2 separate regions of the Homo sapiens genome follow, and region 1 is linked to region 2. The links are contacts of gene promoters, found by promoter capture Hi-C in human tissues and cell types (Jung and others, 2019). All regions are on one chromosome and are shown on one strand. Each heading gives the region's core, a stretch centred on a gene start or on the middle of the fragment in contact. The rest is flanking DNA. Distances are from core to core; before and after follow the strand shown.

Region 1 (6,937 bases), core at 957-3,456, 230 kb after region 2:
AGTAGCCACATCCGGAGAAACTGGAACTTGCTTCACTTAATAGATGGCCAGTGCTGCCTTCTTCTTTATTCTGAGTTTCTAAGGATGAGATCTACCTATAGTCTTTGCAGAGGTATCCTGCTTTTCATCTATTTCTTATTCCATGCTCACTACAGAGAGACAGGAGTTTCCCTCCTTCATGAGGCACCAGTCCAGTACTGGAAAGCCCTGTAGGTGACAAGGCATCAAGAGCCTGTGTTCCTTCTAGCCCCAATGGCATACCAGTGGTCTTGGGCATATTCACCTAATCCATCTGGTATTTTGTTTCTCTTCCAAAAAATGAAATGGCTGGACTAGATATATTCTAAGCTTCCTTCCACCTCTAAAAATTCAATGAATCTCATTGTAAATCTAAATCTAAAATTTCAATGAATCTTAGACTAGTGAAGCACACTGTAAAATCTATCTGTACAGAGCTTGCACAACTATGCCCTGAAATTTCATGAGATCAGTGTTCAACCTATCATCTTCTTGCCCTAGCTCCCATACAAAGGATTTTCCTTTGTGATCAAGGGTACCTCATGACTGCCTCTGTGGGTGAAGCTGAACATCCTTTGAATGATGGCTGAAGTCTTCCCTTAAGCTTCTCAGTGACTTCAAGAAAAACCATTCTAATGTGGGGAATTGATTATCCATGTTTTAAAAGCTTACATCCTATAAAACATATTGTAAATAAAGCTTCAATGTAATCTCTTTAGGGCATTTAAAAGAGGAAAGGACGTTTCTCAGAAACATCTGTCTCTGCCTTCATTTCGCCTTCTCTTCCCAGGAGTTACAGCCACTGGCGTGTGTGCCAGGACCAGGATGTCTGTGGAAGGGGACAGGCCTGGAGCCACTTCTCAGGGGGCAAAGGTCCAGGGTTGTATATGTGTGTCTCTTTCCAAAGTCAAGTGGAAGTGATTTTGAATTGTGTGCAGTGCTCAGCTATATTGATTGTGAGCAATTCAATTCACTTCACATTTTTAAAGCAGCTCAAGGAATCATAGACCAGAGATTCTGAATTAGCCAGAATTCCTCTTATAGTGTACAGAAACCAAAGTGTGGGACAGAATTTAAGGCATTCCATTAACATAGTTCTGTGCTGAGGATCATCTTTGGGAACTCAATGTACATGCGAAAAAAGACTCACCTATTTGCTTCTCCAAAGATGATGCTGTGTGCATCTGGCTGGTAGACTAGTAAAACAGAAAGAGAAAAGATGTATAATAAAAATAAAATTCTTTAAGCAAAAGAGGCAGAATCGTCAAATAAACCAAGCCCTGGAAAGAGAATCCAAATACCTCAGAAGTTCTGCTAACTTGGGCTTTGGCCAAGCAATTTTGCCTCACTGTCCCTCAGTTTTGTGATTTGGAATCGTACCAATTTTCAAGATTTAGTTTGGTCATCTGAACAAATTTACTTCCAAGCAAAACTTAAAAGTTTTGTTTGTTTGTTTTTTACTCCTTAAATCAATAGGTATGAGGCAGTAAGTGGTTCAACAGACTGAGTTGACAACTGAGGAAAGACAAACTGTTGGGCTCTGATTCTTTACAAAGTAAAAAATATTCCCTTCACCCCTATGAGCCTCCATTTCTCTGTCTATAGAATAGAATAACTAGAACAACCCATTTCTAAGAAAAAAAAAAAAAGGATTGAAAAGCACTTTGCAAGCCAGGCAGTGGGCCCTCCATCCCCTTATGCCTGGTGCCTCCAGGGCACAGCAGTCTGCCGGCAGGCTTACCTCTCGGAGTTCTGCCAGCTCCTTCTGTAGGTGGAAGAGCTGAAACATCCCCAGGCCCAATCCTACCAAGGCAACCAGAACCATGAAAAACATCACAAGGAGACACAGGCCTGTGCTGTGGTTCCCTCTCTTCTTCAGGGGTGGCAGCGGTAGTGGAGGCAGTGGTGGCGGCGGCGGCGGAGGTGGTAGTGGTGGCGGTGGCGGTGGTGGTGGTGGCCTCCTTTGACCAGGCCTTCTGGGCACAGAGGTTGGACAGGGAAGAACTGTGCCTGGAGGGGCCCAGGGAGAGCTGGCACTGCTGTCCACCCAGTAGATCTGGGGATATGGGTAATTGAAGGGCTGCTGCATGGCAGCTGGTGAGTCAGGCCAGCCCCAGCAAACGGTTTTACTTCTTCTCAGTCCTGTAGAGGCTGAGGTGTCAAGGACGGGACCCTGTTGCTGACTGCTCAAGAGGAGGCAAGCTGGATCTCTCTTATAGAGTTTCCATAGCTAAGGGAAACACCTCTGTCTTTCTCTTTCTCTATCTCTCTCTCTCTGATTCTGCTTCTCAAAGAAACACCCACTCACTTTGCAGCTGAAGCTGAGAAGCCTCAAGAAGCTCAGAGCAAACCCCTGGAAGTTTCCGCCCACAATTTTCTGATAACAGCCTTCAAGGCCTCAGTTGCTGTCGCTGTGCTACCCAAACAGGTTAGTAGGCTATGCTCACCTTCCTGGGATCCTGCAGAGCAGGTCAGCATGGGGGTATAGCCCTGTTAGTGTGAACTGCTCCCAGCTACAGGAGAATGGTCAGTGGGGCTATAATTTTATGAATTATAATTGCATGCTTTTTTATACATTATAATTGTATAATTTTAAGAATTCTACCATATACACAACCAAAAAACTATTTAAAAATCCCAAAATAACTCTAACAAAAATTGTTCAGAACCGTATTTTTTAAACTATAAAAATTTTACTGAAAATGGCTCTGAGGGGAGAGACCATGGAGTCATGGCCAGAGAAGTCACTCCCACATTTTAGTTTTTGCAGGAGGAAAACATCTGTTGCCATCATCTCTTCCCCACACACAACTACCATTTACCCTGACCTGCCGATCACCATAATTTACAGGTTAAAAACCTGCTACACCCACTTTAGAAATTAGATCAGAGGCTGCAAACCAGTGGAACCCACAGAGCTGCTTTGTATTTCGCAATGTTTTCATTTTCATTGTTTGCCCAGTTTATTTATTTACTTATTTATTTAAATAGAGACAGAGTCTCACTCTGTCACCCAGGCTGGAGTGCAGTGGTGCTATCGTAGTTAACTGCAGCCTCAAACTCCTGGGCTCAAGCAATCCTCTTGCCTTGGCCTCCTGAGTAGCTGGGATTATAGGCATAAGTCACTACACCTGACTAATTTATTCTTTTTTTTTTTTGTACAGATGGGGACTTGCTATGTTGCCCAGGCTTGTCTCAAACTCCTAGCTTCAAGACATCCTCCTGCCTCAGTTTCCCAAAGTGCTGGAATTACAGGCATGAGCCACTGCACTGAGCCCAACTGACCACTTTTAATATCAACATTAAAAATATTTTAAAATATATATATTAAATACACATTAAAATACATATTTCTATTCTGTTTTGAAATATCAGAATATCAGACACCCTCGAGGCCATCTCTGCAAACCCAATCAGTGGGAAGTATGTAGCAGCTGCCCCTGAGAATGAGAGACAGGAGTTCTGGGTCACCCAGCCTCCACCACTGGCCTGTGTCTCACACACCACCTCACTATCTGAAAGGCCTGCCTGGTCCCTGCCAACATTTCTGTGTGCTGCCCCTGTTATGGTTGCCAGATGAAATACATGGTGCCCAGTTAAATTTGAATTTCAGATAAATAATACATTATTTTTAGGACAAGTAGGTCTTAAACATGTCCAAACATGGAATATACTAAACAATTATTCATCATATATCTGACATTCAAATCTAACTCTGTGTCCTATTTCTTTGTTTTGCTTTTTTTTTTTTTTTTTTTTTTTTGGTAGTTGTTGTTGTTGTTTAAAGCTGGCCTCTCTACTTGGGCTCATCTCACCATTTCCTCTGGCCTCACATACCATTTATATGCCAATAACTTCCAAGTAGTTAGCTTCAGTCCTAATCATTCTCCAATAGAAGCCAAATAAATCCCCCATAAATCAAAATTTTTCATTTTTTTCATGTTTATTACTTTTCAAATTTCGTTAGTTTTTATATCATGCTTTGGGATTTCCATTACTATCATTCAGGCCCACTCACCTGTACCACACCAACCCCAAGGGTACTATTTCTCTGATACATTCTGCCCATCCCACCCCATCCCCAACCCTGTACAACCCCTTTCTCCTGAGGCCACTCTTTCTGGTGGCAACTTCATCTCCTTTCTTTTCCTCTCCCCCAACGTTTAACTGGTCACCCAGGACTGTCGCTTTTACCTGAGACCTGTTCCTTACCCTCCCCTCAGTGTACTGCCCCCCTGCCCCATCCTCGCTACTCCCATTTTTCTTACTGCTGTTGCCTGGGGTCAGACTTTATCTCTCACTTGAAATACTGCAATAATGCCCTAACAGGTGCCCTGCCACCGACCTTTCCCAAGCCCAAATCACCCAGTAAAATGCTATAAGAAAAATGCTTTTTAAAAAACAAACCTAATGATCTCACTTCCCTGCCTTCTGTTGGAAGGTTTGATTCAGGAGCAAGGCAAGCTTCTTACCGTTACCCAAGGCTCTTTAGCGTCAGCTCCTACTGCCTCCTTACCAGGCACTCCTGCTCACATCCCACTCTCCACTCTTAAACAGTGCAAGGGATGAGACTAGCAAGACAGTGCACGAGTTAACGAGCTTTTGAACTCACATGTGACTTTATTCATCGTTATGAATTCAACTAACTTTAAATTTCATAATCAGAAATTGTAATTTTAAGAATTCTACCATATAGACAACAAAAAAACTATTTGAAAATCCCAAAATAACTGTAAGAAAAATTGTCCAGAACCATATATATGTATTTTTTATTTTTTTGAGATTGAGTCTTACTCTGTCGCCAGGCTGGCACGCAATGGCGTGATCTCAGCTCACTGCAACATCTGCCTCCTGGGTTCAAGTGATTCTCCTGCCTTAGCCTCCCGAGTAGCTGGGACTACAGGCACATGCCACCACACACAGCTAATTTTTGTATTTTTAGTAGAGATGGGGTTTCACCATGTTGGCCAGGATGGTCTCGATCTCTTGACCTCGTGATCTGCCCGCCTCAGCCTCCCAAAGTGCTGGGATTACAGGCGTGAGCCACCGTGCATGGCCCATATCTTTTAAATTATAAAAATTCTACTGAAAATGTCAAAGATTCAAATAAGTGGGAAAAATACACCATATCCTGGATGGGGAGGTGGTGTTGCATGATGGTTGGGAGTGGGTGGTTCTGGAGTTAAACTATGTGACTTCCAATCCCAGCTCTTCTGCTCATTAACTGTGTGAACTGGACAGGTCACCTTCCCTCCTCGGTGCCACAGTTTTCTCATTTATAAAAATAAGCATGATCATAATAGTACTTGCTTTACGGGGGTTGGGAGGATTAAATGAGTCAAAGCATTTGATACACTTAGAATAGTCCCTAGCACCAAGGTAGGCACTCAAAAGATGTTGTAAATTTAGTGAATCTTTCCCCAAATAATTCATCTGTAGACTTAATATAATCGACCTTCTTCCATTAAGGACAAACAAAGTGGAGAGAGGGAGAGAGGTTGCAGGGGAAAGTGCAAAGTCCACGTTTGACATCCAGTATCTCTCTGAGATCCTACCCTGAACTGATGAGCCTCTCCATTTCAGACTAGTACCTCTCGATTTTTCTATCTCAAACTCCCACAGGAACTTCCAGCACTGTCCAATAAGAATTATGCTGTATTTTTACATCTCCTTCTTCCCTGCTGCTTCTGTTGATTCATTCTGCAACAGAAGAAATTAGAAGACCATACCTGCCCCCAACTCTCCTGCTATCCTCCAGGCATAGAGAGAATCTGAACTGAAATAGAGTCAAAGAGAGCATCTTTAAACACTCATATTGATCTTCAGTAATGCCACCAAACATCACAGGTTGGCAAAGTCATGGAAAAATAAAACAACCCTATGTACAATAACAGGGACCCATTATGTTTTGGGGTATTTCCAAACCTTATTAATAAGGAGAAATAATTGTTACAAGTAGATCTTAGTTCTGTGAATGCTAAAGAAAATAATATTTGCCTTTGAGAGATGAACTTAATAAATAAATCAAAGGCTGGTGGCTCCCACAGGCTGGGAATTTAAATGGAAGAGCTTTGCTAAGTCTTGCTCTACCCTCCCCAATTACACCTGCAGAATCTCTGATTCTGGAACCAGAGGTTCCTTGAGGATAGACAAAGGAGAAATATTCAGAGCTGACAATCTCTTTGAGGAGGAGGGGGGGGCTTACGAGCCATAGAGATTCAAAGGGACCTGGGTGACACTTGGGAGCAAATTTATATGGAGGACAAAATAGGAGAAACCACCTTATACTAGTTGTTATGATTTTTTAAAGTATCTTCTCATTAGATGAAAATTCAAGTTATCTTCAATTGTGGTCCCTCCGGCATTGTAATTTCCTTCAGAAATTGTCTTAACCATCTAGAAAAAGGATTTAAGTATGCTGCTACACCTAGGATGTTAGTCACATGGAGGTTAAAAGGACAGGGGCATAAAGAGAACAAAGTTCCTATTTCTTTCTTCCATCCAGTGTTCTACCAGGGAAGTGGACTCAGTGGATTGTAACTCAGAGCTCCAGAGGTGACTCAGCAGTCGCAGAGAGTGATGCATAAGGAAAGTAGCTGCTATGAACCTTCACAAACCTAGAGGAGACTTCCAAGGGCATCTGCCAAGTTAGTAAGAAAACCAAATCTGATTTTCCCCAGAGGTGAGCAAAGACCCCAGTACACTCCTGGCTGAAACTTGTTTATTCACAGACATGCACCTATATATTTAATTTCACTAAGTGATTTCTGGATGCTCATCTGAGTGGCTGAATGCCTTGACACCACCACCAATTATGAAGAACTATTTTATCCCATGTCCTCAGCTCTACTTGGTATTATCCATCTTTTAATTTTTGCCAAGCATTATGACTATAAAGTTATATATCATTGTCTATTGA
Region 2 (6,544 bases), core at 101-2,600:
TCTTACTGTGTGTCCAGGGAGGAATGTATACACCAAATTTCTTCCGTCATTGTTTGAGGGCTCTTCTAGGGGGTGAATAGACATTCTGGGACTTCTGTCCTGACACAAACCTAGGTAAAGCATCCTCCCAAAGGCTTAGAAACCTTCAGGCCAAGAAATGCAGATCCTGGACAGGAGGAGCACACTGCAGGTGGGGGTGGAATGGGCCAATGTCTGCCTTTCCTCACCTTTCCATTTGATAGAGGAAGAAAAAGAGAAAGAGGAGGAATGGAAAGAATGGAAAGCTTACCCCGCCCCCCAAAAAAAATAAAGACAGGAAAAGAGAAGGAGAAGAAAAAAAATTGATTTTACTATTTATTTAGCATCTACTATGTGCAAAGCATCTTACTGACTTGTCGTGGCAATCTTACAAGTTAGGCATTTTATCATACCTATTTTACAGATGAAGATACTGAGTTTAAAGAAGTTAGGTAAAATCCCCATCCCCCCCGCCACCCCAAATTAAACAACTAGCAGGTTAAGAAGTTAGAATTCAAATCCAGTTTCTCCTTCCTATCTCAAAATCCTTTAGTACTTTATCATTGTTTAGATATATATGGCTCTCCATGATCTGATCCAGTGTAATATGAAAACCCTTAGCCTGGGAGTTGGAAGAGCAGAGTTTCAGTCCTGAAGATGCCACCCAAAGCCCCACTGGAATCATGCCCAGTCATTCCATCTCTGGGCCTCATTTTCTTTGTCAGTAAAACAAGGAGCAACACTACATGATGTTTAGGGCATCTGCCAGTTCTAACAGTTTAGGATTCTACTTTCCAGCCTTATCTTGAGTTAATCTCCTACACACAACTATATTCCAACTAAACTGGAAAAAATCTTCATTTCCTTAATATACTCAATGCTTTTCCAACTCTCCTACTCTCTCCCAAAGGCTGTCCCTGCCTGATTACTTCATGCCTAAATCCTCCATAATTTCCAAATACTATCTTGTCCAGAAAGGCATTATTTTACCACTCAAGCAAGAAATAATATCTCATTTATCTGAAGTCTCATAATATTTTTTATTTTTTTATAATGCCAAATTCTATGTTTTATTCTCTCCTATATAAAACCTGTGAAGTTACCTTACACATAACCATGCATCACCATGTATAGCATAGACTCTGGAGTCACATTTCCTGGGTTAGAATCCCAGCTCTACCACTTTCTAGCTACACAACCTTGGGCAAAGTTTTCTGTGTCTCAGTTTCCTCCTCTGTAACATGGTATAATAATATTACTTACTTTAGTGGAAGCTTGGAAAGTTTACATGAATTAATATTTGTAAAGTGCTTAGAGCAGTTTCTGAGACAATAACCACTATGTATGTGTTTGTTATCATTATTAGAAATTGTTAGTTCTCTTTCTTTTTAGTTTGTAATACTTTGAGAGTGCCTATTATCTCTCTTAGCATCTTATAAATTTTCTGAGCATAGGAATGTGTCTCTTTACTTTTATATCTTTTTTCTTTTCTTTTTTTTTTTTTTTTTTTGAGATGGCATCTGGCTCTGTCGCCCAGGCTGGAGTGCAGTGGCGTGATCTTGGCTCACTGCAAGCTCCACTTCCCAGGTTCACGCCATTCTCCTGCCTCAGCCTTCTGAGTAGCTGGGACTACAGGTGCCTGCCACCACGCCCGGCTAACGTTTTTGTATTTTTTTAGTAGAGATGGGGCTTCTCCATGTTAGCCAGGATGGTCTCGATCTCCTGACCTCATGATCCGCCCACCTCGGCCTCTGAAAGTGCTGGGATTACAGGCGTGAGCCACCGCGCCCGGCCTACTTTTGTATCTTTTCAGCATAATTTCTTATGTGTAGCAAGGACCCAATATATATTTGATGAATATGTGTCTATGTGTGTGTGCTAATGTAATGTTATGTGTGTACCTGTCATTATCTTCTTTTGTTGTGTACCTTGATTTTTTTGTCTTTTTGTTTTCCTTCTGCAGAAGTCCTAGAGTAGGAATTGTTTTATCATTTTGTTTTTTTGTATTATAATGATATGTTTGTATTAAGGTCCTTGAAGAGCTTTTCCTTTGTGGGGTTTATAATTGTCTACTAAAACATACAGCATGTTAGATTATTAGATGTGTATTTGTTAAATGAATAAGCATAGGACATATGAACAAATAATATATACTTAATAAATACAGACTTTGGTACTTCTCCCTCTACCCTACTACCAAGTATGAAATCCTAAGATTAAAACCACTTTAAATTGTATGTTTTACCCTCAACTCTAGTCAAGAATAGATTTTCTGAGGTGTTTCTTCAAAACAAAACCAAATCTACGTTATTATTTTCTGCAAAACTTTCAGATGCCCCCCGATAGAGTGTGTCACAGAGTGGACAGAAACTTGGAAGGTCTGAGTCACTAGATAGAACTTGAGTGCATCTTCAAAACAGTTAAGAATATCAATAAATGATGCTTCAAATCAACATGAATTTTATTTTTTACAGATAAGATAAACATAACTTTTCTAGGTATTGGTAACAACTTCCCAGCATTAGGGGACAGTTTACAAATTTCTCTTTGTTGTTTTTAGCTAGTTTGGTTGGTTAGATCAGAAGTTCTGGCTAAACAGAATGTCTTGGTCAAATTAGGGAAATGAGATGAGTTTTTATGAAAGTCAACAAGCTTGGCTAATGTCTCATTTTCTTTTAAACCCATGGCTTTTAAGACATTGATAGGGCAATGCACTAGCTATCATGGATGATATAGTTTGGATGTTTGTTATCTCCAAATCGCATGTTTAAATGTAATTCCTAATCTTGGAGATACAGCCTGGTGGGAGGTGTTTGGATCATGGGGGGCTTCATGAATGGCTTGATGACCTTCCTGCAGTAATGAGTTCATGTGGGAGCTGGTTGTTTGAAAGAGCCTGGCACCTATCTCTCTCTCTCTCTCTTTCTCCCTCTCTTGCCATGTGACATACTGGCTCCCCTTGTGCCTTCTGCCATGATTGTAAGCTTTCTGAGGCCATCACTAGGAGCAGACACTGGTGCCATGCTTCCTGTACAGCCTGCAGAACCATCAGCCAAAATCAACCTACATTATTTATAAATTACCCAGTCTCAGGTATTCCTTTATAGAAATGCAAATGGGCTAACACAAAAAATTGGTACTTATGAGTGGGGCATTGCTATGAAGAGACTTGAAAATGTAGAAGCAGCTTTAGAACTGGGTAACAGGCAGAGATTGGAAGAATTTGAAGAACTCAGAAGAAGAAAGGAAGATGAGGGAAAGTTTGAAACTTCCTAGAGAATTGTTAGGTGGTTGTAAGAAAATGCTGATACAAATATGGACAATGAAGGCCAGACTGATGAGATCTCAGATAGAAATAAGGAGGTTATCAGCCATGGAGCAAAGGTCACCCATGTTACACCCCAGCAAAGAACTTGACTGCATTTTGTCCATGCCCTTCAGTTTTGGGGGATGGCTGAACTTAAGAGTGATGACCTAGGATATTTTGCGGAATAAATTTCTAAGCAGCAAAGCATTCTAGAAGTGGTGTGGTTACTTCTAACAGCCTACAGTCAGATACAAGAGCAAAAGAAAGACTTAAAGTTGGAACTTATATTTCAAAGGGAAGCAGAGCATAAAAAATTGGAAAATGTGTGGTCTGACCATGTAGTAAAGAAGGAAATAGTGTTTTCAAGGAAATAATTCAAGAGGCCTGCAAAGCAACCACTTGTTAGAGAGATTTGCATGATTAAAAGGGAGTCAAGTGCTAATAGCCAAGACAATGGGAAAAAGATCTTCAATGTAGCCCCTCTCATTGCAAGCCCAGAAGACAGAATGGTTTCAGTGGCCAGATTCAGGGCACTGCTGCCCTGTGCCACCTTGGAAGGCCATTCCCCACCTCCTGGCTGCTTATGCTACAGCCAAGGCTCAAACGGCCCCAGGTAGAGCTCGGGCTAACCCTATGGAAGGCTCAGCCATAAGCCTTGGTGGTTTCCAGGAAATGTTAAGCCTGCAAGTGCCAGAATACAAGAGTGAAGAAAGGTTGCCAGTTTCCACCTAGATTTCAGAGGATATATTGGAAAGCTTTGTGTCCAAGCAGAAGCCTACCTCAGGGGCAGGGTGCCCCCAGAGTGCCTCTATTAGGGCAGTACTTAGGGGAAATGTGGGGTTGCAGCCCCACACAGAGTGCCAATTGAGGCACTGCCTAGTGGAGCTGTGGGAAGGGGGCCACTGCCTTCCAGACCCCAGAATGGTAGATCCACCTGTAGCTTGCATCCTGAGTATGGAAAAGCCACAGGCATTGGACTCCAACCCATGAAAGCAGCCATAGAGGCTGCACCTGGCAAACTCAAAGAGCAGAGCTGCCCAAGGCCATGTCCTACTCCCTGCACCAGTGTGCCCAGGATGTGGGACATGGAGGCAAAGATGATATTAGAGCTTTAAGATTTAATGTCTGCCCTGCTGGGTTTTGGACTTGTGTGGGGCCTGTTGTCCTTCTCTTTTGTCCAATTTCTCCCTTTTGAAATGGGATTATTTTACCAATGCACATACAATTGTTTTGTCTTGGAAATATATAACTTGTTTTTTTTTAATTTTAGAGGCTCATAGCTGGAGGAACTTACTTTGAGTCTCAAATGAGACTTTGGACTACTGAGTTAATGATGGGATGAGTTAAGACTTTGGGGGAACTTTTGGGAAGGGAAGACTTTGGCACCTCTCTCTCTCTCGCTCACTATTGCCATGTGATACTCCAGCTCCCCGCTTCATCTTCTGCCATGATTATAACTTTCCTGAGGCCTCACCAGAAGCAGATGCTGATGCCATGCTGTTGTACAGCCTGCAGAACTGTGAGCCATATAAACCTCTTTTCTTTATAAATTACTCAGCCTCAGGTATTCCTTCATAGCAACACAAATGGACTAATGGAATGGATAATTGTAGTAATAATATTATTAATAAACTAGAATTTCCTTGAAGATAAGGCATTTTACTCATCTCTGAGTCCTCTAATCTCTAGCCCAGATGTAGTAAATTCTGTACCTTGTCTACCCAAATCTCTTCTTCCCTTTTGTGCTCTTAGAAACCCAATTGTGTTCAGATATTAGAACACTAGCTGCTTTATGGAGGCTGAGCATCTATCTATCCCTGAAGGAGAAAGGTGAATCTTTATTAATTTCATTAAGCCAACATGGTTCATCCAAATTCCCTTGTCAATTATGGATTAAGAAGGGGCATATGACACAATTTTGCCTTATGAAAATGGACAAAAAGGCTCCTAGGGACTTTTTGGAAGAGTTATCTTTGTTCTTAAGGAAGAACCAAAGACGAAGACATTTCCTTCTCAGCCCATGGACATTGCAACCTATTGTGATACCTGGAACTGTAGCTGCCATCTTGGGCTTGAAAAGAATTTATCCTATACAACAAGGAAAACTCTGAGGATAACATAACTGAAAGACTGAGTAAACATGGGTGCTTGATAACAATTCTGAGTCATTAGTGTAACCAACCCTGAAACTCCTTCACCTTTGGACTTCTTATAAGAAAGAAACTTTGAGTTGATTTTCTGCTACTTGCAGCCAAAGCATCTTAATTGATAGAGCTGGGGTACTTGTATGATTTTCTGCCTAAATGATTTATTATTCTTAATATTAGTCTTAATAACATATTATAATAATACACATAGTAATACTTTACAACATTTACCCTACCCTGGAAAGCAACATACTAAGCATTTGTATAAATTATTTCATTTAATAGCAATATTTGATTGAGATAGATGCCATTATTCTCTTCTTATATATAGGGAAACTGAGGCCTGAAAAGGTAAAGTAACTTGACAAAATGCTCACAGTCGGTGACAAATCCCAGGTTTTGAACCTAAGTCACTCTGAATGGACTCTATCATCTTTCAATGACCCTATTTTAATTGACTTCACAATTAGTTTTTCTCACTAACATTTTGATAAGCTCAAGATTATCATGTTCATTTCAAAAAATGAAGTACAGTACAGTCCAAGAGGCTGGGCTATTTGACAAAATTCATAGTTCTAAAAAATTTAGCATTTCTTTGTTGCTACTCCCTCACTATTAAATCAGTACACATTTGATCAGTTTTTCCTAGGTTAGACAGACAGCTTTACAAGGCAAACAAAATTGCCACTCCAAAGAGGCACAGAGAAGTTACTTACTCATGAATATTATTATTAATAACAGAGAATTAATAACACATTTATTTAATTTAAAAATATGACAAGGACCAAGTATAGAATGATAGGGAAATCTGTTCCCAACAGGAAGGCATCTATCTAGTGAAGAAGCATTTTTAAAAACCCACAGTCACTTAAAATCTCTGGAAATTGTCCTAAGGCTATCCAGCAAATTGAAAAACATTCATTTAAGAAAAAAAATTATTGATAAGAACTGTGAGAGTCTGAAGCATTTGAGCCAATCTCCACTCTATTACTGACTCCTATCCTCACCCCAGCTCTGTGTTACAGAATCTCTATTATCCTGGGCGATGTGCAAACAAGAAAGCATAAGCTCC

Evidence for each region. Contacts are between HindIII fragments. The study calls those that stand out against the background at their distance.
Region 1: a contact is called between the fragment with the promoter of FASLG here and a fragment that was not itself captured in region 2, in 1 of the 25 tissues and cell types used here (pancreas).

Annotation. Positions count from the first base shown.
Region 1 is chr1:172,654,372-172,661,308 of GRCh38, reverse strand. FASLG (Fas ligand) reads right to left here and starts at 2,206. Exons shown (of 4, transcript NM_000639.3): 1 at 1,760-2,206; 2 at 1,169-1,214. The coding sequence starts at 2,107. The HindIII fragment of the contact is 6,455 bases long and covers 1-6,337 here.
Region 2 is chr1:172,886,288-172,892,831 of GRCh38, reverse strand. No RefSeq gene overlaps it. Among named protein-coding and RNA genes, the nearest start is that of TNFSF18, 160 kb to the left of the region's middle. The HindIII fragment of the contact is 4,383 bases long and covers 1-3,541 here.